Regions from separate parts of the Homo sapiens genome. Here all the other regions are linked to region 6. Evidence: promoter capture Hi-C in 16 types of primary human blood cells and fetal thymus (Javierre and others, 2016). All regions are on one chromosome and are shown on one strand. Each heading gives the region's core, a stretch centred on a gene start or on the middle of the fragment in contact. The rest is flanking DNA. Distances are from core to core; before and after follow the strand shown. Region 1 holds the start of CDADC1 (cytidine and dCMP deaminase domain containing 1). Region 2 holds the start of PHF11 (PHD finger protein 11). Region 3 holds the start of LRCH1 (leucine rich repeats and calponin homology domain containing 1). Region 4 holds the start of ZC3H13 (zinc finger CCCH-type containing 13). Region 5 holds the start of RCBTB1 (RCC1 and BTB domain containing protein 1). Region 6 holds the start of NUDT15 (nudix hydrolase 15). Region 7 holds the start of ESD (esterase D).

Evidence for each region. Contacts are between HindIII fragments. The CHiCAGO score rates a contact against its expected background, and 5 or more counts as called.
Region 1: the fragment with the promoter of CDADC1 here is called in contact with the fragment with the promoter of NUDT15 in region 6 in 11 of 17 cell types (total CD8 T cells, monocytes, non-activated CD4 T cells and 8 more); the score reaches 13.9 in total CD8 T cells.
Region 2: the fragment with the promoter of PHF11 here is called in contact with the fragment with the promoter of NUDT15 in region 6 in 10 of 17 cell types (non-activated CD4 T cells, activated CD4 T cells, neutrophils and 7 more); the score reaches 21.8 in non-activated CD4 T cells.
Region 3: a contact is called between the fragment with the promoter of LRCH1 here and the fragment with the promoter of NUDT15 in region 6, in 14 of 17 cell types (naive CD8 T cells, activated CD4 T cells, erythroblasts and 11 more). The highest score is 18.5, in naive CD8 T cells.
Region 4: a contact is called between the fragment with the promoter of ZC3H13 here and the fragment with the promoter of NUDT15 in region 6, in 9 of 17 cell types (total B cells, naive CD8 T cells, fetal thymus and 6 more). The highest score is 15.1, in total B cells.
Region 5: the fragment with the promoter of RCBTB1 here is called in contact with the fragment with the promoter of NUDT15 in region 6 in 7 of 17 cell types (fetal thymus, total CD4 T cells, non-activated CD4 T cells and 4 more); the score reaches 9.5 in fetal thymus.
Region 7: a contact is called between the fragment with the promoter of ESD here and the fragment with the promoter of NUDT15 in region 6, in 16 of 17 cell types (M2 macrophages, erythroblasts, M0 macrophages and 13 more). The highest score is 31.5, in M2 macrophages.

What each region holds. Positions count from the first base shown.
Region 1 is chr13:49,245,955-49,249,225 of GRCh38, reverse strand. CDADC1 (cytidine and dCMP deaminase domain containing 1) reads right to left here and starts at 1,301. Exons shown (of 10, transcript NM_030911.4): 1 at 1,107-1,301; 2 at 261-355. The coding sequence starts at 1,188. LOC105370203 (a long non-coding RNA gene) reads left to right here and starts at 1,386. Exons shown (of 2, transcript NR_135318.1): 1 at 1,386-1,591. RefSeq lists enhancers at 1,179-1,408, 878-1,440. The HindIII fragment of the contact is 642 bases long and covers 687-1,328 here.
Region 2 is chr13:49,493,957-49,497,303 of GRCh38, reverse strand. PHF11 (PHD finger protein 11) reads right to left here and starts at 1,351. Exons shown (of 10, transcript NM_001040443.3): 1 at 1,209-1,351. The coding sequence starts at 1,302. The region is part of intron 12 of SETDB2-PHF11 (SETDB2-PHF11 readthrough); the gene reads right to left. It overlaps SETDB2 (SET domain bifurcated histone lysine methyltransferase 2), which reads right to left. Exons shown (of 14, transcript NM_001160308.3): 14 at 2,301-3,347. RefSeq lists enhancers at 770-819, 1,310-1,549, 1,860-2,545 and a silencer at 1,010-1,289. The HindIII fragment of the contact is 2,314 bases long and covers 507-2,820 here.
Region 3 is chr13:46,551,589-46,554,780 of GRCh38, reverse strand. It overlaps LRCH1 (leucine rich repeats and calponin homology domain containing 1), which reads right to left and starts at 1,611. Exons shown (of 20, transcript NM_001164211.2): 1 at 1,078-1,611. The coding sequence starts at 1,384. RefSeq lists enhancers at 478-797, 454-1,154 and silencers at 1,358-1,417, 1,478-1,667. The HindIII fragment of the contact is 3,547 bases long and covers 1-2,766 here.
Region 4 is chr13:46,051,152-46,054,662 of GRCh38, reverse strand. ZC3H13 (zinc finger CCCH-type containing 13) reads left to right here and starts at 1,917. Exons shown (of 19, transcript NM_001330564.2): 1 at 1,917-2,259. CPB2 (carboxypeptidase B2) reads left to right here. Exons shown (of 11, transcript NM_001872.5): 11 at 865-1,477. The coding sequence ends at 1,049. CPB2-AS1 (CPB2 antisense RNA 1) reads right to left here and starts at 1,815. Exons shown (of 3, transcript NR_046227.1): 1 at 1,698-1,815. RefSeq lists enhancers at 1,752-1,951, 1,962-2,131, 1,661-2,196, 2,197-2,733. The HindIII fragment of the contact is 2,282 bases long and covers 1,002-3,283 here.
Region 5 is chr13:49,584,030-49,587,189 of GRCh38, reverse strand. It overlaps RCBTB1 (RCC1 and BTB domain containing protein 1), which reads left to right and starts at 1,632. Exons shown (of 13, transcript NM_018191.4): 1 at 1,632-1,746. RefSeq lists a silencer at 1,399-2,108. The HindIII fragment of the contact is 4,185 bases long and covers 1-3,017 here.
Region 6 is chr13:48,036,434-48,039,591 of GRCh38, reverse strand. NUDT15 (nudix hydrolase 15) reads right to left here and starts at 1,866. Exons shown (of 3, transcript NM_018283.4): 1 at 1,688-1,866. The coding sequence starts at 1,845. LOC124903172 (a long non-coding RNA gene) reads left to right here and starts at 1,600. Exons shown (of 2, transcript XR_007063788.1): 1 at 1,600-1,986. RefSeq lists enhancers at 1,370-1,529, 1,580-1,819, 986-1,861, 1,862-2,738. The HindIII fragment of the contact is 6,950 bases long and covers 1-2,901 here.
Region 7 is chr13:46,795,826-46,799,072 of GRCh38, reverse strand. It overlaps ESD (esterase D), which reads left to right and starts at 1,912. Exons shown (of 10, transcript NM_001984.2): 1 at 1,912-1,968. RefSeq lists enhancers at 1,995-2,044, 2,176-2,777 and a silencer at 2,355-2,404. The HindIII fragment of the contact is 4,378 bases long and covers 1-3,247 here.

The DNA.
Region 1 (3,271 bases), core at 52-2,551, 1.2 Mb before region 6:
TAGACAATAATCTTATTAGCCGAACTGACATATGAATACCATTAGTACCCGATAAACATGGTATTCTCAGAAAGTATTTTTAGAATGGAAGATGACTTATTACGGCTGGGAATTATAAAGTGTCATGTTAATCAATAAAGATATTTTTTAAATCTTAAGCCTTGTTAAGTTTGGTTTTAGGTATGACAGAAACTGGAGCAATAAACTCAGATTTTAAACCACTGCTTTTCTAAGGGGAAAAACTATGAAACAAATTATACCTGAGATTTTTGCCGCTGGGCTTCTGCTGGAAAGAGCTCCATCCAGAGGCTGAGCAGAGTGAAAAGGTTGACTTTAGAAAGCCTTGGTATCTGACCTACAAAAGAGACGACAAACACTTTAAACTTTGTTACTAATGGTGAAAAAGGGAGCCAATCTCAATGCCACTTAGGTGCTGCAGCCTAAGCCCAGCTGCTTTCGCAAGAGGCACAGAAAAAGATAGGGGACAAGAGAGTCAGAGGTATCTTAGCAGTAGACGCTTCAGCCTTAGTCGTGGCTACCTCCTTCTCCACTTAAAAAGTTGAGCCTTCTTTCTCCAGCCCTCACCCTGCAGGAAAAAACGGTACAGCTAATACACATAGCTGAGGGGGACAACCCAAAGCAAGCTGTGAAAAGTCTTCGCATCTGACGTCGTCGTGGTGCAAGCTTTTCTTTGGACTGTGATGGGGCGTTGCTAAAAGGAAAGCGATTAGAACACAACCCGAAAAATGCGCTGACCTTCGACGGTAAAGCAGTCGAAATACAGGAAAGCGTCACGTGCGGTTAATTTGGAAATCAAGGCAAAAGCGCCGTTTGGAAATGTTCAGGCTCTTTGACCTCAGAGGCCCCAGCTCTAGGTCCTGTGAGAAGTAGCTAACAGGGGTAAAAAGCGAGACTTCAAAAGCCAGTGCGACCGAGCCGATTGGTCCTGGCGACCGCGGAGGGGACACGCAGAGGGCGGGCAGGAGACATCCAAAAGCAGCAGGGGAGGCAAAGAGGCTCAGACAAGGAATCTGGAGTTCAATGACGGGAGACGCACAGGGCAGAGCGAAAGGTAGGGTGGCGGGAGCAGGGTCCCGGACACTCACCGGTCATGCTGCCAGTCTGGGTGCTGACTGACCGCCCGGCCCTCGCGCTCTCCAGATTTTGCATCTGCCCAGCTTCTTTCATCCCAAACCTAGCGTCCTCTGCTGCCAAGGAAACCTCTCCCAGTCAGACATGATCTCGGCCCTAGCGCCCCCGCCTCTCGCCTCCTCTCAGCAACTGTAAGGCAACGGCCCACTAGGCGCAGCCAGATGACGCCTCAAGCTTGACCGCCACTTCAGGGCTCCTCGTGTGACGTCATAGAGAGGCGGGGCTTTGGCGCCAGAGGGCTGCCCCTCGGCCGGTGACCGAGTTAAGCACCGAGCTGTAAATCGCTTGAGACCTGTATTTGGTTGTTTTGTTGGTTTTGCCAAGTAAGGTCACTTGAGGATTTCTTGGCTCGAGGTCCCAGGTTGCGCAGACTCTGACTGCATCGAGTTGAGAATTTTGGTCAGAATGTTAAAGTGGAAACCTACCCCAGGCTGTCATGGTCAGTGTTTTAGAGAACTTCTTGGGTTGGGGTGTGGAGCTGGGCGGTCCAGGATGTTCTGTCATCAGAGACTGGCGGGTTCTGGGGAACTTGGTGCCATGGAACACAGTAGGGACGTTCTGCTTCTCATCAAGAACATGAAGACATTAAGAGGTGGAATTGTAATGGGGAAAAAGGTGAGAGGAGGCAGTAGGAGTTATTTTGTTTTTAATTTCTAATGTCTAGTTTATTTCCACAAAACATCTGTATCATACCAGTTCTTTGAAATTTGTTCAGACTTGTTTTATGACCTAGATCAGCACTGTCCAGTAGGATTTCCTGTAGTATTCTATATCTGCACTGTCCAATATGGTAGCCACCAGCCACATGTGGCTATTGAGCATCTGAAATGTGGCCAGTACAACCAAGGAACTGCATTTTTAACTTCATTTAGTTTTAATTAATTTACATTTTAAGTAGTGACATGTGGCTATTGGCTACTACTGTATTGGACAACATTACTCTAGACTCTCCTCCTGGAATTCCTATTAGGCATAGGTTAAACCTTCTGAGGTTCTAAATTATTATTTTTAAAATATTGCATCATTTTGTTTCTCTGAGCCACATTCTGGCTAATTTCTTCAGATCTATCTTTCAGCTTGCTATTTATTTCTTTGGCTTGTAGAATTTTTTCTAGTTCGCCTGTTCTGAGGGTAAAGCTCTTCAGGTGATTTGACTATATCCAGAGAACTCCATTCTGCACCTTTCCTGAAGTGTAGACTTTGTTGACAGTGCCTTCATGGCAATTAACACTAAGGTTTAAAGACAGGCCATGGACTAGGAGAAAATATTTGCAAAGCATGTATCCAACAAAGGACTCATATCCAGAATATATAAAGAACCATATAAACTCAGAGTAAGTAAACAGTCCAGTTAGAAAATGGATCAAAGACTTGAATAGTCATTTCACCAAAGAAGATATACAGATGGCAAATAAACATGTAAAACAGTGTTCAGTGTCATTGGCCATTAGGGAAATGTATATTAAAACCACAATGAGATTCTACTACACACCTATTTAAATGGCTAAAATAACAAGTACTGACAGCACTAAATGCTAGTGAGGATGCAGAGCAACCGGATCTCTCAAACATTGCTGGTAGGACTATAAAATGGCATAACCACTCTAGAAAACAGTTTGACAGTTTCTTATAAAGTTGCACATATGCTTATCATATCACCCAGCAATCACACTCCTGGGTATTTATCCTAGACAAACCAAAACTTATGTTCAAACAAAACTCTGTACATGAATGTCATGGTGGCTTTATTTTTAATAGTCAAAAACTGAAAACAGGCCAGGCATGGTGGCTCACACCTGTAATCCCAGCACTTTGGGAGGCCAAGGCGGGCGGATCATGAGGTCAGGAGTTTGAGATCAGCCTGGGCAACATGGCGAAACCCCGTCTCTACTAAAAATACAAAAAATTAGCCAGGCGTGGTGGCATGTACCTGTAGTCCCACCTACTCAGGAGGCTTAGGCAGGAGAATCACTTGAACCCGGGAGGCAGAGGTTGCAGTGAGCCAAGATTGCACCACTGCACTCCAGCCTGGGCGACAGAGTGAGACTCCATCTCAAAAACAAAAAAACAAAAAAACTGTAAACAAGCCAAACAGTCCTTAGTGAATGAATAGAAAGCA
Region 2 (3,347 bases), core at 102-2,601, 1.5 Mb before region 6:
ATCATTTCAGAAATGGAAGAAGTTGGTTATACCAGTCTGGAGTTTGAGGAAGAGGTCAGGATGGAAGCGCATCTCCCGTGACTTACCTTACAGTCCATATGTATACCAATGAATGAAATATCCAACTGATTGGCTTGTGGTTGCCACGTATGATGTTTACGTGTGACGTTTTGTGGTTTGGTGCCTTTGTGTCATCCTCTCTGCTGGGAACACCCCTTCAACTTTTCCACCTTTGGCTGAGTCTTGCCCTTTAAAGGTAAGCCCATGAAACATGGAGAAACCCTCTCTACTAAAAATACAAAATTAGCTGGGCGTGGTGGCACATGCCTGTAATCCCATCCACTCGGGAGGCTGAGGCAGGAGAATCGCTTGAACCCGGGAGGCAGAGGTTGCAGTGGGCCGAGATAGCGCCTTTGCACTCCAGCCTGGGCAACAAGAGTGAAACTCCTCTCAAAAAAAAAAAAAAAAAAAAAGGGTAAGCCCAGCCATCCTCTCCTCAAAAAGCTTTCCCTGAAGACTGGGAGTCAGGAGTCTCTCATCTGTACCTCTGTGGTTCTGACCTCCTCATTAAAGTTGCCTAGTAGAGTCTCTAGGGCAGGGTCTGCCTAACTCATCTTTGTATGCTCAGGACCTTGCCCTGAGCCTGGCACACCGTTTGGAGCTATACACACACGCAAGGGCAGGAACCCATCAGAAGACCCACCCACTCAAGTAGAGGGCCGGGGAGGACTGGAACGACTGGAGAAGGGGAGACGGGTTCCAGTCACGTCCTCCGTGAACGTGAGACCCAGCTCTTCCCTCAGGGCCGCCCCCTGCCTCACCGCATCAGGGCGCCCCTCCACTGTCCTGGTTTACCGGTGAGCGGAGGGGCGCTAGGAGAGTTGACATCGGTTGTGGTGGAAGCACTGGGCTGTCACCCGCGGGGGAGGTAAACCGAAGCGTGCCCACCACTCGCGCGAAACCATGGGCAGTCAGAGCCACCTGTGGAACTGGCCTGGGCCGCGCCCTGTCCTCTGGCCCCCTCCCCCACCAACAGGCACGCGAGTGGTGAGCCAAGTTCGTCCAGCGCCGCCCCGGCGTCTAGGGCCCCGGCCCGGAGTAGGGGCAGGTCGGGCCCCCATGCGGCCACGACCGGAAGGCAGGCCCCTTGACCGGGCCCGTCGCTGCCCAGCCCCGCCCGCCCGCCCGCCCGCCCCCGCGGTACACACCGGTGGGAAGGAGGAGCGCCTCCTGCGCGGGCCGGGCCTCCGGGCTGCTGGCGCCGAGCACCCTCTCGGGCCGGGGCGGCGACGCCTGGGCCATGACTGTGCTGCAGCTGCGGGTGGCGGCCGGATAGCGAGATCCCGGAAGTGCCCCAGCTGCACTAGGTTTCGTTTTCTTAAATCTGGGCTGTCGCTTTGAGTCACTAGCCGGCCCGGGGAAAGTTGGGTGTGCAGAGAGGGGTTGTCACACACACTGCTCCAGATTCCAGTCTAGTCTTAATTTGAATAGCTTAAAAAACCCAAACGCCGGGAGCAGTGGCTCACGCCTGTAATCCCAGCACTTTGGGAGGCCGAGGAGGGCGGATCACGAGGTCAGGAGTTCAACACCAGCCTAACCAACATGGTGAAACCCCGTCTCTACTAAAAATACAAAAATTAGCTGGGCATGGTGGCGGGTGCCTGTAATCCCAGCTACTCCAGACACTGAGGCATGAGAATCGCTTGAATCGGGAGGCGGGGCTTGCAGTGAGCCGAGATCGCGCCACTACACTCCAGCCTGGGCTACAGAGCGGGACTCCGTCTCAAAACAAACAAACAAACAAACACACACAAAAAACAAACAAACAAAAAAACCCCAAACGCCAGGCTTCCCTACTCCACCCCCCACAACACAGCGGGAGAAACAATCACTCTCCTGAGGGTTCCTCCTAAAAACTATCATACTGGCCGGGTGGGCGCGGTGGCTCACGCCTGTAGTTCCAGGACTTTGGGAGGCCGAGGTGGGCGAATCACGAGGTCAGGAGTTCGAGACCAGCCTGGTCAACATGGTGAAACCCCGTCTCTACTAAAAATACAAAAATTAGCCGGGCTTGGTGGCGGGCGCCTGTAATCCCAGCTACTCGGGAGTCTGAGGCAGGAGAATCGCTTGAACCCGGGAGGCGGGGGTTGCAGTGAGCCAAGATCGCGCCACTGCACTCCTGCCTAGGCGACAGAGCCAGACTCCCTCTCAAAAAAAAAAAAAAAAAAAAAAAAATTATCATACCGAGTTTGGCTTAAATAAGCATATCTTAAAAGGACGCAGAATTAGCCGATCCTAAATCCAGTTGCCAGTAGCAAGCCTTTATTTAGCACCCATAGGGTACAGAGCACCATACAAGATGAGGTTTTCAGTGAATCTAACATAAATGCATATAATTATAGTTAAAAAATAAGTTGTTCTGGAAAAAAGACATATAATAGTTGGTGGTTTGCTGAGGAATTAAAGGAAAACTGGAGGTCTTCCACTTTCAGCAGGTTGTAAAGAGGAAGACTGCCAACTAGGGATAGCAGAAGAGAGAACATTAAAAAGGACAATTTGTATAGTCTTGACAACTATGAAATGAATTGCAGAAGAGTGTGGGGTCTGCAAAACAGGGAAGTGAGCAGACAGACCCTAGCAGCCAATTTTTAAATTTTTTTTTGCCCTCCATGCAGGAGGATGAAAGAGTATTTCTTGCCAGGCCAAAATGAAAGGCCCTTTATAAAGAGACTGACATTAGGGTGTTCCCCAGCAAGATAGCTCAGGTAGGTCATAGTAAAACAAAGAGCCCTTTACCACACTCTCAGCTTATAGTAAGCTTTTTGGTGTTCCACACTTAAATATGAGTAGACTACCAAGACCATTAACTCTGAGGAAAGCCTATAATGTGAACGACCAAAACAAACATACAGGGGAAACAAAGAAACAAACCCTGGAGGACACAGATTATGCCGAAAGAATACAGAGATGCATGCCTGTATGTGTATGTATACGTGTGTGCATATACATACATAAACACACAAACATCTTCAAGGAGATAAAATACTGCAACCATGAGCCAAAATAGGATGCTATTAAAAAAAAAGAATATTCGGAGAAGGGGAGCTCTTAGAAATTAAAAATATGAGACAATATGAGACTAGAAAAATAAAATGCAACAGATGAACTGGAAGATTAAATTGAGAAATGCTCCTAGGAAAAGGTCCTAGCAAGAAGACAGAGCTGAAAGTTAAGAGAAAAGATAGGAAAATTAGAGATCAAATTCTGGAGGTCTAACATCTGGAAAACAGGAATTCCAGAAACAGTGAAGAGATGGGAAATCATTAGTTTCAGACGGAATGATCCCA
Region 3 (3,192 bases), core at 362-2,861, 1.5 Mb after region 6:
CTATGACACAAACCCTCCCCCAGGGAGCGGAACCGGATGGCCGGAAACCAAGTCAGTTCTGTATAGACCCTAAGGCCCCAATCCTATTCCACCACCCTCCTTCCTGTTTATAGATCCCGCTCCTGGAACTCCAACTACCAAAGAGAAAGCAGACGTTTTAGAAGTATGTAACACATGACGTAACTTGAAAAAGTTATGCTGCTTATTGGCGCGAGTTACAACTTGCCGGGCTCACACAGGAAAACAGGCTCACGTTAATTACTTTGCCTTTAATATGCCACGCCGTCCTTTCCTGGGGCCCCCGCAACGGTTGGGTAACTGAGAACCAGGTAGCCTCGGTGGTAGGACCCAAACTGTGTGGGCGGTGAGCAAAAGGCACGGAAGGAAGAGGGCCGATCGCTTCCGAAGCGGCAGCCGACTGGGATTCACTACAAGCCCGGCGGCTCTTTTCCCGCACAAGCGCAGGGAGAGGAAACTTGGGCACCTCACAGGCGGCACCGAGTTGCCCGATCGCTCGGCGATGTCGCCGAGGGGGCTCGCGGCACTGCGCCGATGCCCCTGGCTCGGCCGAGGGCGTGCCACCTTTGTCTGGGTTTCCCCACCAGGATGGGCTACGCCTCGATGCAAAGACGGCTTGAACTGGTTGGAGGCGCCGACGCCGCTGTCCGCGCTGGAGTTCCCAGCCCTGCGCGGGGCCCAGGAAGCCGACACAGCCGCCTGAAACCTCCCACTTACACTGCGCGCACGCGGCGCGCCTGCAAGTCCCAGCCCCGCGGTTACTTCCCTGGCGCGGCAGCCACAGGGTGGAGAGCCGGAGACCCCTCGCTCTCAGGCGCAGAGGCCCGGCGCACCCCTGCCCTCCTGGCACTGCATCGCCGGACCAGGCAGGGCCCCCGTGCCCTCTCCAGGGCCCGCTTCTTCCGCGCCCACGCGAGTCCCTTCTTCGGGAGACAACGGGCCGATGGACCCTCCCTCCCCCAGCAAGACAAGATCTCCGACTGTCCACCGCGTTAGGGAACGCACGACAGACACCCAGACAGCACCCACACCCCTGCCCGCCCCTCGGCCCTCACTCACCTGCCTGCACCGTGTCCGAGAGGTCGTGCCCGGGGGCTGCGGTACGGGGAAATTCCTTCAATTTCCTGGCGCTCAGGTTCAGCCCCCCGGAGTTGGCCGCCTCCTCAAGCGCGCGCTCCAGACCCCGGTTCAAGGGCAGGTTGAAGCCCCCGCTGCCACCGCCGCCACCACCCGCCCCGCCGGGGGCGCCGGTTCCTCCGTGGTGCTGATGGTGGTGGTGGTGGTGGTGGGGATGATGAAGTGGGTGCAGAGTAGCTACCGAAAGGGCCGGGACGAAAGGTTGGGGTTCGCTTCCCGGCGTCGCCATCTTCTCCCGGGCCCCCCCACCCCGCCCCGCCGCTCCTGCGGGGGGGTCACAGCGTTCCCCGCGAGGGGAAAACGGCAGCTCGGGCTGAGTGCCGCAGTGCTCCACCGAAAGGCGCTGGAAGGAGGGGAGGAGGGTGTGGGCAGGCGCGTAGAATGGGGGGCGGGCGGGGAGGCGGCCGTGGCAGCTCGGTCTTGAAGGTTTCCTGTCCCCGGGAAGCTAAGGACTGCGGCGGCGGCGGCGGCGGCGGCAGCGCGCATGTGTCTCCTCCCGCCCCTGCGCCCTCCCCCCGGCTGCTCTGCCCTCCTCCGCCGTCTGCTCTCTCCTCCTCCTTCCCCCACGCAGTCTGCCCCGCCTGAGCCTTCCTCCGCGCCTATTCTGCCGGCCGCCGCCGCCTTGCCGCGATCCGCCCCGCAATCGGGTACACGGCGGGGCTGGACGTCTGCTCCGGGGCAACTGAGGCGCCGAACCTCTCTCTGGGCGTCCTTTTGCCGCCCAGGAGGCTTTAGGGGACTGGAGGTTGCGGGGATAGGGGGGTGGTCTGAGAACACGGATAAAACGGCGGGAGGCAATGAATGGGATTTACAGTACAGTGAGGTTTGGGGCAGGAGAGGGTTCTCTCAATTCTGCGATTTATTCTGGCCGTTTAACCCAGAGATCCCCAAGAGGCAGTTTTCATTCACTATGGGGTCATCCCTGCAGATGCCCCCTGGCATTTGGGCGCTTACAATGAACCAGACGCTTGTTTAGGGAGTCTACGTAAGTTACCTCATTAATCCAGGGACCCCAGGAGTGCCAAAGTTGTTCCCCTGAGTCTACAGAGGAAGTTAATAAATGTATCTAAGGTCACCCCTGCAGTTAGAGGGGCGCTAGATTCGAGCTAGGGCCCTCAGAATCTAGGGTTGCCCTCCTTCACAGTGTACCCCTGGGCCAGACGCCAGCGCCAAGGGACGAATACGAGTGGGACAGAGTGTTTGCTGAGCGGCAGAAGAAAGCTACAGACATAGGAAAGAAAAACTCAAAATGAGGGCAGTGTTTATGGGGGACAGAAGACATTGTCGTAGGAGAAAGATGAGCTGGCTGCTCCCCGAAATTGGGTGGTGCCAGGAGAGGCTAGAAAGCCAGTGACCCCAAACAGCAAATCAGTCACAGCTCGAGTCTGAGCTGAAAGAACCATCGAAGTCTCCTTGTGCCCTTCTTCTTCCCGCTTTGGGGCATGGAAACGAACATGTCCGCTTGCAAGTGAATTCACATTCTGCCATCAGCCACCCAGTGGCACCCAGGCCAATGCTGGCACACCAGGGGCGACAGAGAACATCTGACACCCTAAGGGCAGACCAGCTGGACGATTAATAGAATACCATTCCTTTCCTGAAGTTAAAGCTTCATGTCCAACTTTCCAGGGCCTTTATTTTTGCTCTATTCTTAAGGCTTGATTGTCCCCTATGAGCGACTTGGCTTGGGGAAAATGAGTCGGGGGGTGGGTGCGGGGTTGTCGGGGTGTCAAGCACGAAAGTAATGCAACCCTTGGAGTAGGGGAGCTGGTTTTTTAAGTGGTAATACATAAGTTTGATGGCCTAGACAACAGGCTGGAACTGGTGACTTCATGGACTCGGCACTTAAGTATGGCATGATCTGTGTCACTTGAATTGACTGCACAGATAGTTGCCCTTAATTCCTGCGGGATTCTTGGCCCTGAGCAAAGCATTCTAATCTGCCCGGAGGAGACACGCGCCACCTGCTGGTATCCTCCCGCAAACCTCCCCTCTCACATGCCATTCGCCGCAGCCTTCCAGGCTTTTAAAAGTCCG
Region 4 (3,511 bases), core at 668-3,167, 2.0 Mb after region 6:
ATGCTTCCCAAACTGTATTAGATAGATGCTAAAATTATAAATTAAAATTTTGGGTCAGACTTTGCCATAAACCTGGACTCAATTTAGCACCCCCCCAAAAAAAGTCAGATTATTCAATTAATGCGGTTGGAAAACCTAACAAGTTACCTAGAAAAAAATTAATTGGATTATTAACATGTCTTTCACCAAAGTAAATTCCAGGTACAGCATATATTTTCATATGAAAACCCTGCATAAACCAAGTTGAAATCTCAGTAAGGAGAAAAAATTCTTGTGAAAGGAGAAATGAATGAAAGGAGAAAAAAAGGTCTACATGCCAAACAAAGCTAATAACACTAATGTCGTTTTTATAAGCAATTGATAAAATGAACCAAGTAGACAAATGAGGAAGGACAATTGATAGGAAATATAAAGATAGCCAATAAATATGCCAAACAAATGTGCAACTCACTGATAATCAAAAAACATAAATTAAGACAGTTGGATATTATTTTTCGCCCATAAAATTATCAGAATTCATAATTCCTATTGATGGTATGGGAAGGGGAAATGGGCAAATTCATACCCTGCTTGTGGAAGTATAAATGAATTCAGTTCTTTTGACGTCCATTTGGGAACATGCCGTAATTGCAAAAAGTACAGAGCCTTAGACTAGCAAATCTATTCTAGGGAAGAATATTCTAAAGAGACAAAGAAGCAATTATGTATAAACAAGGGTACTCATTGTAAAGTTGTTTATATTAGTTAAAAACTGAAAAAAATCTAAAGGTATACAAACAAATAAACATTTAAATCAAACAATTCCCAGTTTGTAAATTAATTTGAAACGTCTGTATTTCAACAATTTCTTTCTTCTTCTTTTAGACCTAGCTCCTGGAGGTGGGGACGATTGGATCTATGATTTGGGCATCAAATATTCGTTTACAATTGAACTTCGAGATACGGGCACATACGGATTCTTGCTGCCGGAGCGTTACATCAAACCCACCTGTAGAGAAGCTTTTGCCGCTGTCTCTAAAATAGCTTGGCATGTCATTAGGAATGTTTAATGCCCCTGATTTTATCATTCTGCTTCCGTATTTTAATTTACTGATTCCAGCAAGACCAAATCATTGTATCAAATTATTTTTAAGTTTTATCCGTAGTTTTGATAAAAGATTTTCCTATTCCTTGGTTCTGTCAGAGAACCTAATAAGTGCTACTTTGCCATTAAGGCAGACTAGGGTTCATGTCTTTTTACCCTTTAAAAAAAATTGTAAAAGTCTAGTTACCTACTTTTTCTTTGATTTTCGACGTTTGACTAGCCATCTCAAGCAAGTTTCGACGTTTGACTAGCCATCTCAAGCAAGTTTAATCAATGATCATCTCACGCTGATCATTGGATCCTACTCAACAAAAGGAAGGGTGGTCAGAAGTACATTAAAGATTTCTGCTCCAAATTTTCAATAAATTTCTGCTTGTGCCTTTAGAAATACAACCATGCATTCCGTTTGCTCCACGGTAATTAGGCGATGGCCCAGAAAGGGGAGGGGTGTCAAAAACGACAAACATAGCCTCTCATTCCAGCTCAGCTGCTCAATAAACACTGTTGAACGAATGAATGAGTGGCTCTAGGTACTGTCAACAAATGCCGCATTTTGCGCATTTACAACAGCTGTTTATGGTAAGGAATTATGTAATAAAAAGAGAAAACTCACTTAAATTCACTTTTAATTGGGAATTTTAGTTCTCCCGGGCTCCCAGTTTCCTTTCCTAGGATCTCTCACAGAGCACAGATTCGATTTCCAAGTCCCGCCGCACTCTTACCGCTCGCATGGAACCTTACGCCTAGAGGGCGTGTCCACGAAGGGTGGTGTCTGCGCACTGACGACTAATCTGACGGCCGGAAGCTGCCTGGGTCTACAGAGGAACAGGGCAAACCTCTGACTTCCGGCGGCATTTTGAGGCGGTCCTCCTAGCGGCCTGGTAGTGTTTTTGTTGCCTTTTCTTAATCTACAATCTCTTCGTTATTTTTCTTCCTGCGACCCAGTTTCGCTTGACCCTGGAGAGGCGGCGGGCGGGTTGGTTCTGCTTCTCAGCCATCCCGGGGGCTCCTCGCTAGCCAAGAGCCGGTTCCCGGGAGCCGCGCGCGCATCGCTTTCTCCTCGTCGTCGTCCTCCTGGGTCCAGGCGCGGGGACAGAGTCGCCTCCCCCGCTCCTCGGAGCGGCGGCGGCGGTGGTGCCTCCGGACTGCACTTGCGAAGGGAGCTTGGGGAGGAAGTAAGCGTTCTGTGAATTGGTGTGGGTATCTGGGGAAGGCATTGAGCGGACCCGTAATGCGGAGGCCCGGGTTACCCCCCCCCGTCTTTGCTTGAGTCACTGGGATTTTGAGCTTTCCTTGAGCATCCCACCCTTAACTCTGCAATAGCCCCCTGTGCTCAGGCGTAATTTCTCACTCTGATTATGATTCTGGCATTTGTCTAAGGGCGATAAGTAGACTCAGACAATAGGCTGTACCCCTCGTTACCATTTGATGTAAGCACGGGAACCCTTGTATGGTGTTCGTATTTGTGTGCGATGGAAGGGTGCAGCAATTTGGGCTTAAATTTAGAATCTTCCTCTATACTCATTCCAGATCTGTTAGAGAAAAACATCTTACTTGTGATTGGTCTTGTTTTTTTTTTTTTCCCTCAGCAGTGATAACGATTTAGGTCCTGGGAATTGAGTGCTACTTTATCTTCACAAGCCTTAGGTAGGTAGTTTTGGCAACTGTCAGAAACGGGGGAAAGTGGAATAGAAAGAAGAGAGTCTGTTTGGCGGCATTATCTCTCTGTAATAGGCTAACGCAATTTATGTGGTTTGAAAATTATTTAGAGTTGATAATACTTGAATTATGTTGGTAAGATGTTGTTTGTGAAGGGTAGTCTTAAGGTATTTGGTTATACTATGGGGCTTTCAGGTAATTCGAACTACTTTGAAAATTATGGGAGTATGAAGTCTCTTAAGATTTTTGGATTTTTAAAGTAGTTTTAAAAATTTGGAAAACATCTTTACACCTCAAGTTTTCGAAGTCCGCGATACCGTTGGAGAATAAATACTTATGCAGTTCAGTCTATGGGTATATGGTGCCAGTTAGCGGGGTCTAGTTCTGTAACATTTGAAATTACTGGCTTTAGTACAATATATTGGAGCGTTTTGTGAATACAATCTATAGATTTTCAAATAATTTTTATTTTCTTAATGAACTATTTAGATTATAACAGATGACAGTTTCAACTAGAGACTAGCAAAGTTGATGCAAGCTTGTAACAATTGCGGCTTTAAAAATAGTTGCACTCTGAAACTAAGGCTTTCACTCTGTGCATCTGGTAGGATTCAGTTTTATCAAATGTATGCCTCTTACTGGCTTCCTGATTACTGGTCATTCTAAATGAACATTGCATATTTTGAGATTTGCAAGCTTATGTGATTTTCATATTTGTAATATGAATTTAACATACTAAAAATCCAGCAAGTGGATGGTATCTTAACA
Region 5 (3,160 bases), core at 383-2,882, 1.5 Mb before region 6:
CAGGCGCTGTTCTAAACCCAGAAGAATCCTGTTTCAAAGAGTTTATAATCTAAGGGAGAAGACAGCAATAGACAATTCACCTTTTACAGGAAATGCGCAGTCTATTTCTGGGCAGTGTGAGGTGTATCAGAATATATATAGTATTCTGGAAATCAGGGAAGAAGTTGCAGCTGACACTGTCTGGATGAACTTCAATTGCTAAAAAATCAGGGAAGAGGATGCTGGGAAGACAAGAGTAGGCGGCATTTGACCTGGATTTTGAAAGATGAGTAGGAAACTGATGTGTACTTTGGAGGCTGTTGAAGAAAACCAGAGCCAAACAGTAGTTGAAGTGGTAAAAACATTTTATTCAGGAACTAGTGCAACAGGAGCGAGACCTCAGAATAGATACAGAACTAAGCTCAATTCTCTTATTGCATTAGTTTCTTAATACCTTTTTTTTTTTTTTTAATCATTGGCCCTGGTTTTCTTTAAGTGGGGGAGGTGGTGATTCAGGACATTTCAGATACAGACAAAAGAATGAACAAAGCAAAAAGGAGTAAAGAAACTTAGAGAAAAAGTAAATAATCCAAAGAAAGTTGAGTAGTCAAGGAAAACAAATTATTTGTAGCCAGAGCCTCCAGTAATGTTGGGGAAGTGGCAAGAGATGAGGGACGGTAGGACTTTTTTAATAATTCAAGTTACCAAAAGTGAAGTTATCTGGTGATATTTAGAAAATGAAATGTTTTTCTGTTTATTCCTAGGAGCTCAAATGGGAAAGGTAAGTGAACAAGTGGCTGGAATGCTATGCCAACAAGTTTGGATTTTATCCTGCAGCGCCAACTGGGAGTTCTCCGAGAGCTGTATGGTATTTTACAAAGGGACTGTAGTCTTTATAGGTGATAGGCTGGAGCAGCTCGTAGCAGTCCCTCTCCTGGCCTCAGTTTACTCGCTGGTAACACGAATCCGGTTGGACCAGATGCCCTCTTAGGTCCCGTCTAACCTCTATGGCATGCTTCCGAGGTACCTCTGCCTCTTTCCAATACCAGGACCTGTGCCTCATCTCGTCCTTCCTTCATACCTTTGTCCAGCTGCCACCTTCCCTAGTCCCTGGCCTGCCTCAGGTACTTTCAATCAGGAAGTGAGGGGCGGGGAGGGAGGGAGGCGCGTCTCCAGTAAAAACAAACTAGTCCCAGCTCCGCCGCCTTTCCTCCCAGGCAGCACCACCTGGGTGGTGCCCCGGGGCCAGACGCGCTCTAGAGTGGGCAGGGAGCCAAGTTTCTCGGTCGCTTTTCCGTCCTAGGTCTCTGGGGTGGTAGGCCGACCCTCCCCACAGCCAAGCCATCTCGGGGAGCAGAGCAGGAGCCCGTGCCTCGCGCGTTCCTGGTTCCTCAGACACAAAAGCCTCTAAGTCCCGGCAGCAGCCACCGGATTTCATGGGGACACTCCAGTGGCAGGGCCTCGGGGCGGGCCTGAGACGGCCAATCGGCTTCTAAAGAAGTCGGGTTGTAGGGCCCGAAGAGCAGGGTTTCGGCCGGGGCCGGGGCCGGGGCGGTGCGGGATGCTCGGCTGGGTAGCGTCCCGGGCGCGCGCTGCACCGGGTCACGTGAGGCGGCCGGGGCCACGTGACCCGGCGGGCCCGGCGCCCTGGCGCTCCTCCTCTTCGCTGCCGGTGGGCACCGCCGCTCGCTCGCACTTCTGCGCCCATTGGAGCTTCGGAGATCCCTGCGGTCCCGCGGGACGGCGCGGCAGCAGCTGACCTCGCAGGTAGCGTGTGGGCGCGGGGTCGAGCTCGCGGAGGCCTCTTCCCCCTCGGCCCTGCCCCTGCTTCCCTTCCCCGCAGGCCGGGCCGGGAGTGCCCCGTTACTCCTGTACCTCCCGCCTCCCTCGCTCGGGCTCCCGGGCAGTCCCTGCGGGCGCTGCGTCCGGGGCGAGGGATGGGGTCCCCGGCCCGGCCCCGCCAGCACCTCAGCTAATGTGCTCTCCTGCGAGGAGGAGGGAAGGATGGGGAGAGGCGAGGGAAAGTTTTCCCTGCCTCCCTCTCTTTTTTGAGGTGCACGGACTCGATTTTGCTCGTAGCTGAAGTCTGACTGCTGTGGGTGCCGTTTTACTGAGAGGAGATCTCCCCTCCGACTCTTCCTATTCTCTCTCCTTTCCAAGATCTTAGCATCTCTCCTTCGTCTCCTGAGAGTAGTGCTGTCACAAACCGTATTCTTTATCGTTTCCCTTTCCGACACAGAATCCACAAAGGCAGGGATTTTGTTAGTGAGGACTTTTATCCAGGCGTGCGGTGAACTCTAAATAAGTGACGTTTCCCTTGTCTGCCTCTGATAAAGTACCTACCTGCTCGGTTTAAGATGACTATCGAGCACGCTGTGTTCTGCTCGCATAAGTGGCCTTTTGTTTTTATTTATTTGCATGTAAGACACTTTCAAGCCATCTGCGGAACTCTGCAGCTGGGGATTACAATTTTATAAAGCAGTCTTGTAATAATGCTTTTAGAAAACCAGATTCATGATCTTCCTTGCTTTTGCCCTATTCTTTTTTTGGGAGGACTAAAAGCCCTTAGAGGACAAAAACTGAGTTTCTGAAACTGGTGTGTATTGTGGGCTAATAACATTAAAACATCAAAGTATATAATGCCGGAAGGAATGGAAAAATGATTGAATCCTGAGGGCAGTTTATAGGTGCTTTAAACTTTAGAGTACTCATTTCAAGTGAGCACTGGGTGAATTTCACCCGTTTAAACTGCTTTCAGGGTCGAGGATGTAACTGTATATTTGGATTCTATTAATATAACAGTTCATCTGTGGGATGGACTTTAATCCATTTAATCCATTGTGTGAATATCAGTCTATTTATTAATACTCTAGACGGGTCCTTTTTCTTCTACCCGCTAGTCTGTTTCTCTTGAAGAGGAAGCATATTCATCTTTAAAGAGATTTTTGCAAGTGATTTTTTTAAGTGTGTGATCCAAATGATAAAGTTCTGTGAACTTCAGAAAACAAGTAGCCATAAAAACCCAAAGCTGTCAAGCTTGTAGCTTTTAAAAAATGATTTGAAAATTTTAAAGCGTGCCCGTATGCTGCAGCAAGAACTTGGCTCCACCTAATATACGGGAGCTGGGAAGTCTGAAACAGTACCCTCCTTTTCCTGGGAGTCATTGTGGGGTAGATGAAAC
Region 6 (3,158 bases), core at 617-3,116:
TTCAGCCTAGTAGGAGCATTTCCCTTCCAGACTACAAGGGGCCAACTCTGCCCCCCCAAGACAGGTGAGGAACATTCCAAGAGAATCAGTCACAAGATTGGGAGTGACTCAAGAAGGAGATACTCAGTGTGTCACTCCCCTGCTAAAGACATCCTGAGCTGCAGAAACTCACAGGCCTACCCCAGTGCATCAGAAAAGGTGTGCTACAAGGGTGAAAGCTCTTGGGTAAATCTGAAATGTGTCCCTCGGAGTTTCCAGATGCAGATGAATACAGAGGTAGAGCAAGGAAAAAGGGCAGCAGTGGAAATATCATTCCCATTGTGTGTTTCCTTTGGGCCAAGCAGATGCCACAAGAGACTGCTGGGTAATCAAATAGGAGATCCCAGTAGAAAGAAAATGTGGGGTGATGTGCTAAAAGCAAGAGCTAGGAGGTGGGCCAGCATCACAGAAAGCCCGTCACCTATGTCAGGAAAATCTCTGTGGGACTTCCCAACAACTGACAAACATACCCTGAGAAAGCACACATGTGGATATCATGCCCAGAGGACACCAATGGATGGATCAGAGCAGCATCAGTCACCTGAATGGCTTGCTCTCTCTCCTCCTCCAACACACTGGAGAAAGAAGGAAACTCAGAGACAGCCAGGTGAGAAGAGGAGGAGGATACAGAAAAGCAGAACAATGGCTCACACCTCCTTTATGCACTGCAGGGGAGGGATTAGAAACTGGAAGTGACACTGAAGGTTTAAATTGGATTGGACTTTTAAATGCTTGGAAGTGAATCATACTGACCCAAATGTGATTTATTTTTATAACCAAGTGACAAGAAAACTATAGAATTTGCAGGAAACGTCACTGAAGAGGGAAAGAAAAAATCATGTTTGAAGGCAGTGGAAGGAGAAAATAAAACCATTTCCTGTTTGTTCTCCCATCAAATTTAGCCCACTGAGTATGCCAGTTATGTAAAGATCAAATGAAAGTATACATGCAAAGAGCTTGGCATATTATCCAGCCTTTAACAAAAAGCCCATTAGAGCTCAATGTTGGCTATGGTCATTGACCTCACGGGTGGATCACCTGAGGTCAGGAGTTCGAGACCAGCCTGGCCAACATGGCGAAACCCCGTCTCTACTAAAAATACAAAAATTAGCACGGCGTGGTAGCGGGCGCCTGTAATCCCAGCTACCAGGAGGCTGAGACACAAAAATCGCTTGAACCCAGGAGGCGGAGGTTGCAGTGACTGGAGATAGCACCACTGCACTCTGGCCTGGGCTACAGAGCGAGACACAGTCTCAAATCAATCAATCGATCAATCAATCAATCACATGGAAACGGTGCAATGTCTTAGCTGACAATATCGGGCTGCTGGAGGTTTACACACACCTGCTTTCCTCCTTTTGTGTGTAAGCTGTGAGAAACACACCTCACAGACGAACTCCCAACCACCACCCAGCAGGGGCGCAGCCGGAAAGACCCAGCTAGCAAAGACCTCGCCTGACCCAGCACAGCGCCCCCTCCTGGGCGCGATCCTACGTCGCCCAGAAGTCGAGGGGAGGAACCGAGGGAACGCGCAAGAAAGGACGCAGCGTCAGCGCGGACGTTCTCACGCACGGCACACGGAAGCAAGCACGGCGTGAGTTCGTCCCTCTGCGCACGCCCCGGTTTCCTCGCGTCCGCGGCTGCTCACCCGAACTCCAGATGACCTCCAGGGAGTTGGAAACTGCCAGCTCCAACCGAGCCTTTCCTCTTCCCCAGGAGGACGCAACGCGGATGCTTGCAGCTGGTCACCACGACTCCGACTCCGACTCCTGGCCGCCGCCCGCGCGGCTGTGCGCTGGCCGTCATAGCGCGCGGGAGGACGCGCCTGGCAGCGGCAGGAAGTGACGCGCTCACTACCCCGTCCCGCGGCCGCAGCCAATCTCTCCCCGCGAGGGCGGAGGCGCCGAAATCAAAGCGAGAGCGCCTCGGCCTCTCCAGCTGTCCGCGGTGCGTAATGCGTCGCGGAGGGCTATCAGGTTGGGGAATGCCGTGTTTCCTTCCGAAGGGCAGCGTGCCTTAGAGTTTCGCTGTAACTAAAGTCGCTTACAGTTGTGCTTTGAATATTCATCACCCGTCAGCCTATCCACTCCCAGATTCCTGCAAACCATGCATTTACATGTACAAGCCGCCTGCTCTTACCAACCTCGGCACCACTGCACATTCTTTTTTCCGTGAATGACCTCGCCCACCATGGTGCACCCATTTGCCCTGTAGCTCAAATCAGCGTGGTACCAGGATAAGGATAGGTCGTTTAGAAACATCCCATTATAAACAACTATGCTTAAGGTATATTCATAAGTCATGGGAGGAAATAAAGGCTAATTGATAAATCATGCTGGGAAGAGTTAGTTACAAACAGTGGAAAACAGACATTTTCAGATGTTTGCACACCATGCACCATGCAAAATACAAACCAGCTGAATCATAAAAACAAATGACTAGTTACTGGGAGGGTTTTCTCTCTTTCTCATTATTTTTACTTCTACCAAAGTAATGTGCACATACTGGTAATTTTATTTTATTTTAATTTTCACCAAGCTAGCTAATTTTCTTTCTTTTTTTTTTTTTTGTGGAGGTGGGCTGTCGGTCTTTTGTCGAGGCTGATCTCCAACTCCTGTCCTCAAGCAGTCCTTCCACTTGGGCCTACCAGAGTGCTGGGATAACAGGCGTGAACCACTGCGCCTGACCTATAGCTATAATTTTAAGAAGTAAAATGGTGCAAAAACCGCAACAAGAGCAACCTGACCCTCCTACTTTCAGAAACAATCACTTTTAACTCTTTGAACTGTATTTCTGATATTTGCCTACTTATTTCTAAGTAATATGCTTACTCTCCATGTTATACTAAATGGGTATTAAGCTTTTCACAGCATCTCTCCTCACTATCAACATTCACATTCATTACAAAGGTACTTACAATATCTTCTCAAAAAATGGTAGTATATAAAAAGGATAATATATTGAACAATGAGATTAATCCCAGAAATACTAGGTTGGCTTAATATTTGAAAAGCCAATGTAATTCAGCATATTAACAGAGGGAGAAAGGAAATACATATAATCATCTCAATAGATGCAGAAAAAAATTAATAAAATCCGATACTCAGTTGTGATTAAAA
Region 7 (3,247 bases), core at 663-3,162, 1.2 Mb after region 6:
GATGGTGGAGTCCATGTGAATGGGACTAGTGCCCTTACAATAAGATGAAGGAACCAGAGCTCTCCTCACCCCACCCACCAAGTGAGACTACAGCAAGAAGGTATTCCTCTGCAAACGAGGAAAAGGGCTCTCAGCAGGAACAGATTTCATCAGCACCTTGATCTTGGACTTCCCAGACTTTTAGAATGGTGAGGAATAAATTTCTGTTAAGCTGGAACTGACTAAAACAATCTCTTTTCTTACAGGCTTCAAGTATATTTGACTTTTTCTCATTTTTATTGCATCCCTTTATTGCCTCCTTAAGATTATATTCCTACTCATTTTAGTTCAAACCAAGAGTCCTATATCCTCTCAGCCACACATTTACACATAATTTTTGGACTATTTCTTTGTGTACTTAATATTCATCCATTTTTATTGGTAGTGCCATTTTTTAAAATGTCAACCTTAATTTCTGATTTCAGCCTTCTTTGCTTCCATGTCCAAATAATAATGATAATTATATATATTCTTAATATTTTTAAGCAATCGACTTTTGTGGATCTATTAACATTTTATTTATGCTGGGTAAAAGAAATTTTAGTTCTGCTTATTCTCACATTGTATTCACACAAGAACCCTTTAGTAAAGAACTTCACACTTACAGTTCTTTGGCTAGTCTGCACCTCACAGCAGTCCACTTATTAGGCAAATATATCATTTAATCAATTATTTCTCTTTGTTCAAACATCAGTTATAAAGAACTTGCAATTTAGGTATTTATTCTGTTTCAGTTTTGAAACTGAAGAAAATCCCCTTTTCAATGATTTATACTTAAAGATAGTAAAAAGAAAGTTTAAAACAATTTACTTCAATGCTTTCTCAAAATAAAAACATTATTTTGATGAAACATTATTTTCAGTCTAAGTTCCAATTGATCCACAGGTTCAGTCCACAGGTTAATTTAGTCCAAAGATCACTATGGCAAAATGGGCCTGAGCCACACAATAGATTCTGGCAGGTAATCTCTTGTGTGGCAGCTCATCCATACTTAAGTCAGCTCCCATAGCTACACAATTTGCAGGGCCCAATTCCAGACACAAACGTGGGGCCCTGGTTCAACACTTACTGAGAGAAAATGTAGCGTCCTTCTGTTCTGGGGGCCGGGTAATAGCACAGGTTGCAGGCCCATGAGGCCAGCCCCAACTATCAGATTGTGTATTTACAATGTCAGTCTAACCGTTGCTGAAAAATACTTAGCTCTGTTGTAATCAGATTTAATTTCTCAAGAGGCAAAGTACACTCAACAGTTTGCTTAAATCAGAGAGACCAAAAGGAAAGATTTGCTGTAAATTATCAACTAGCAAATCTTAGTCAGTTCAACTTAATTTTTATTGAGGGAAGAAGGGAGAAAACAGAAAACTGATGGAGTTCCCACTGCGTGTCGGCCACTGGAGATTTCAAAGGTTTCTTGTTTAACTCAAGCTACCAAGTAGGTGACGTGGATAGTCTTGGGACAGAGGAGTTGAGGGAGTTGAAATTAGGCCCTAGTTTCTACATAAGTGACACGGAAACCCTCTGCACGAGTTAAGCGAAGCTACATCTCAAGTTTATTAATGCCTCGGGTTCTTGCTGCTGGCTCTGGGAAGAGTCTGAGCACGCACAGCAGACTGATCCCCGACAAGGTGACAGGGACTAACCTAACGCCCTCCTCGTTGGTCCTAGTAACCACACAGAGCAGAAACGCGGGCGAAGGCAGGAGTTGGAGGGGGCGCCCACGCGGAGGCTGCCGGGAAGTGCAATGTGCAAAGGCGGCGGGGCCATGGAGACTGAACTGGAGAAGAGCGGGTTCTCGGAGTTAAAAGCGAGAGTGAGTGGGACCGGAGGGGCGGGGCATCATATGGGCGGGGCTGAGGCGAGGCCCCGGCGGCCATCTTGAGCCCCGCCTTTTACTTCGGCCCGCTTCTTCTGGTCACTCCGCCACCGTAGGTAAGACTGGGTTCGGGTAGAGGCCTGGACGTTGTCAGCCTTCCTGCGGCTGCGGCACGGCTAGGCGTGATCGGGGCGGACGCCGAGTCCTGCGGTGCAGGTATCCGCAGGCACGAGCGCAGAGACGGCGACCCTGGGCCTTGGGCGCCACCATCCATGACAGGAGGCCAAGGACCTTTTCCCGTGACCCGGAGCCTCGCCTCTAATCCCTTTTCCTTCTCTGAGCCTCCAACCTAGTGTAACCCGGGGCGAGCGCCCGTTTACCTACTGCCCGCTACATTTGTACAGCTTTTTCCTGTTCAGAAAGACTTTCCTAGACCCGCAGCCACCGCGCGAAAATGTGAAGTAGATGTGTACGCATTTTAAGGAGGGAGCTGGCCTCAACGCGTTACTAGCGGCCGCCGGCGCCTGGTTCGGGGGAGTGTGGACCTGCTGCTCTAGGCAGCGTCCGCGTCGGGGCACGAGCCAATGGCGCGGTCAGGAGCACTCACCTGATGGTGCCGAGGGGAGCACGTGTCTTTGGAGTTTGACAAAATCTGTTCGGGTCGTAAAATGCTCTCAGAGCGCTGTGGGGGACTGGAAGTCATTTCTGATGGGGTCATTAGGGAAATGGGATTGAGCGCACCTGGAAGGAGAGGGCATTCAGGTTGCAGGAAAAATAATAGCTCATGTTTGTGTGTGTGGTAGAAGCAGCATTTTAAGCACTACGTGAATTAACTCATTTAATTCCCAGAGCAACCCTATCAAATTGATATATATTACTGTATACCCATTTTGCAGATGGGCAAATGAGGCATAGATTAGCTTGCCCAGTGTCATGTAGTAATAAGTGGTGAAGTCAGGGTTTGAACCCGGAGGGTCTGGCCCCAAAACCTGCTCTGAAACCATTGTACCGTGGCATTGAGTAAAGCCACCCGATAGCAACATCCAGGCCATCCTAGAATTATGCATAGTTGAGTTTAACTAACAAAATAGGGAGTGAGACCAGAAAAATAATCTGGGACCAAATTATAGACCATATTTAGAGCCATGTGAAGGTGTTTGGCGTTTATAGATGCTATATTTTTTTTAAAAAATTTTCCCCAGAGTTTAATAGAAATCCTTACCTAGGCAAGCCATGTGAATTTTTATGAAGGAAAAGAGACCCAGCCTAGGCAGCATGGCAAAACCTCCTCTACAAAAAATTACCTGGGCATGGTGGTGCCACCTGTGGTCCCAACTACTCCAGAGGCTGAGGCGGGAGGATCACCTGAGCCCGGGGGCCGAGATGATTGCAGTG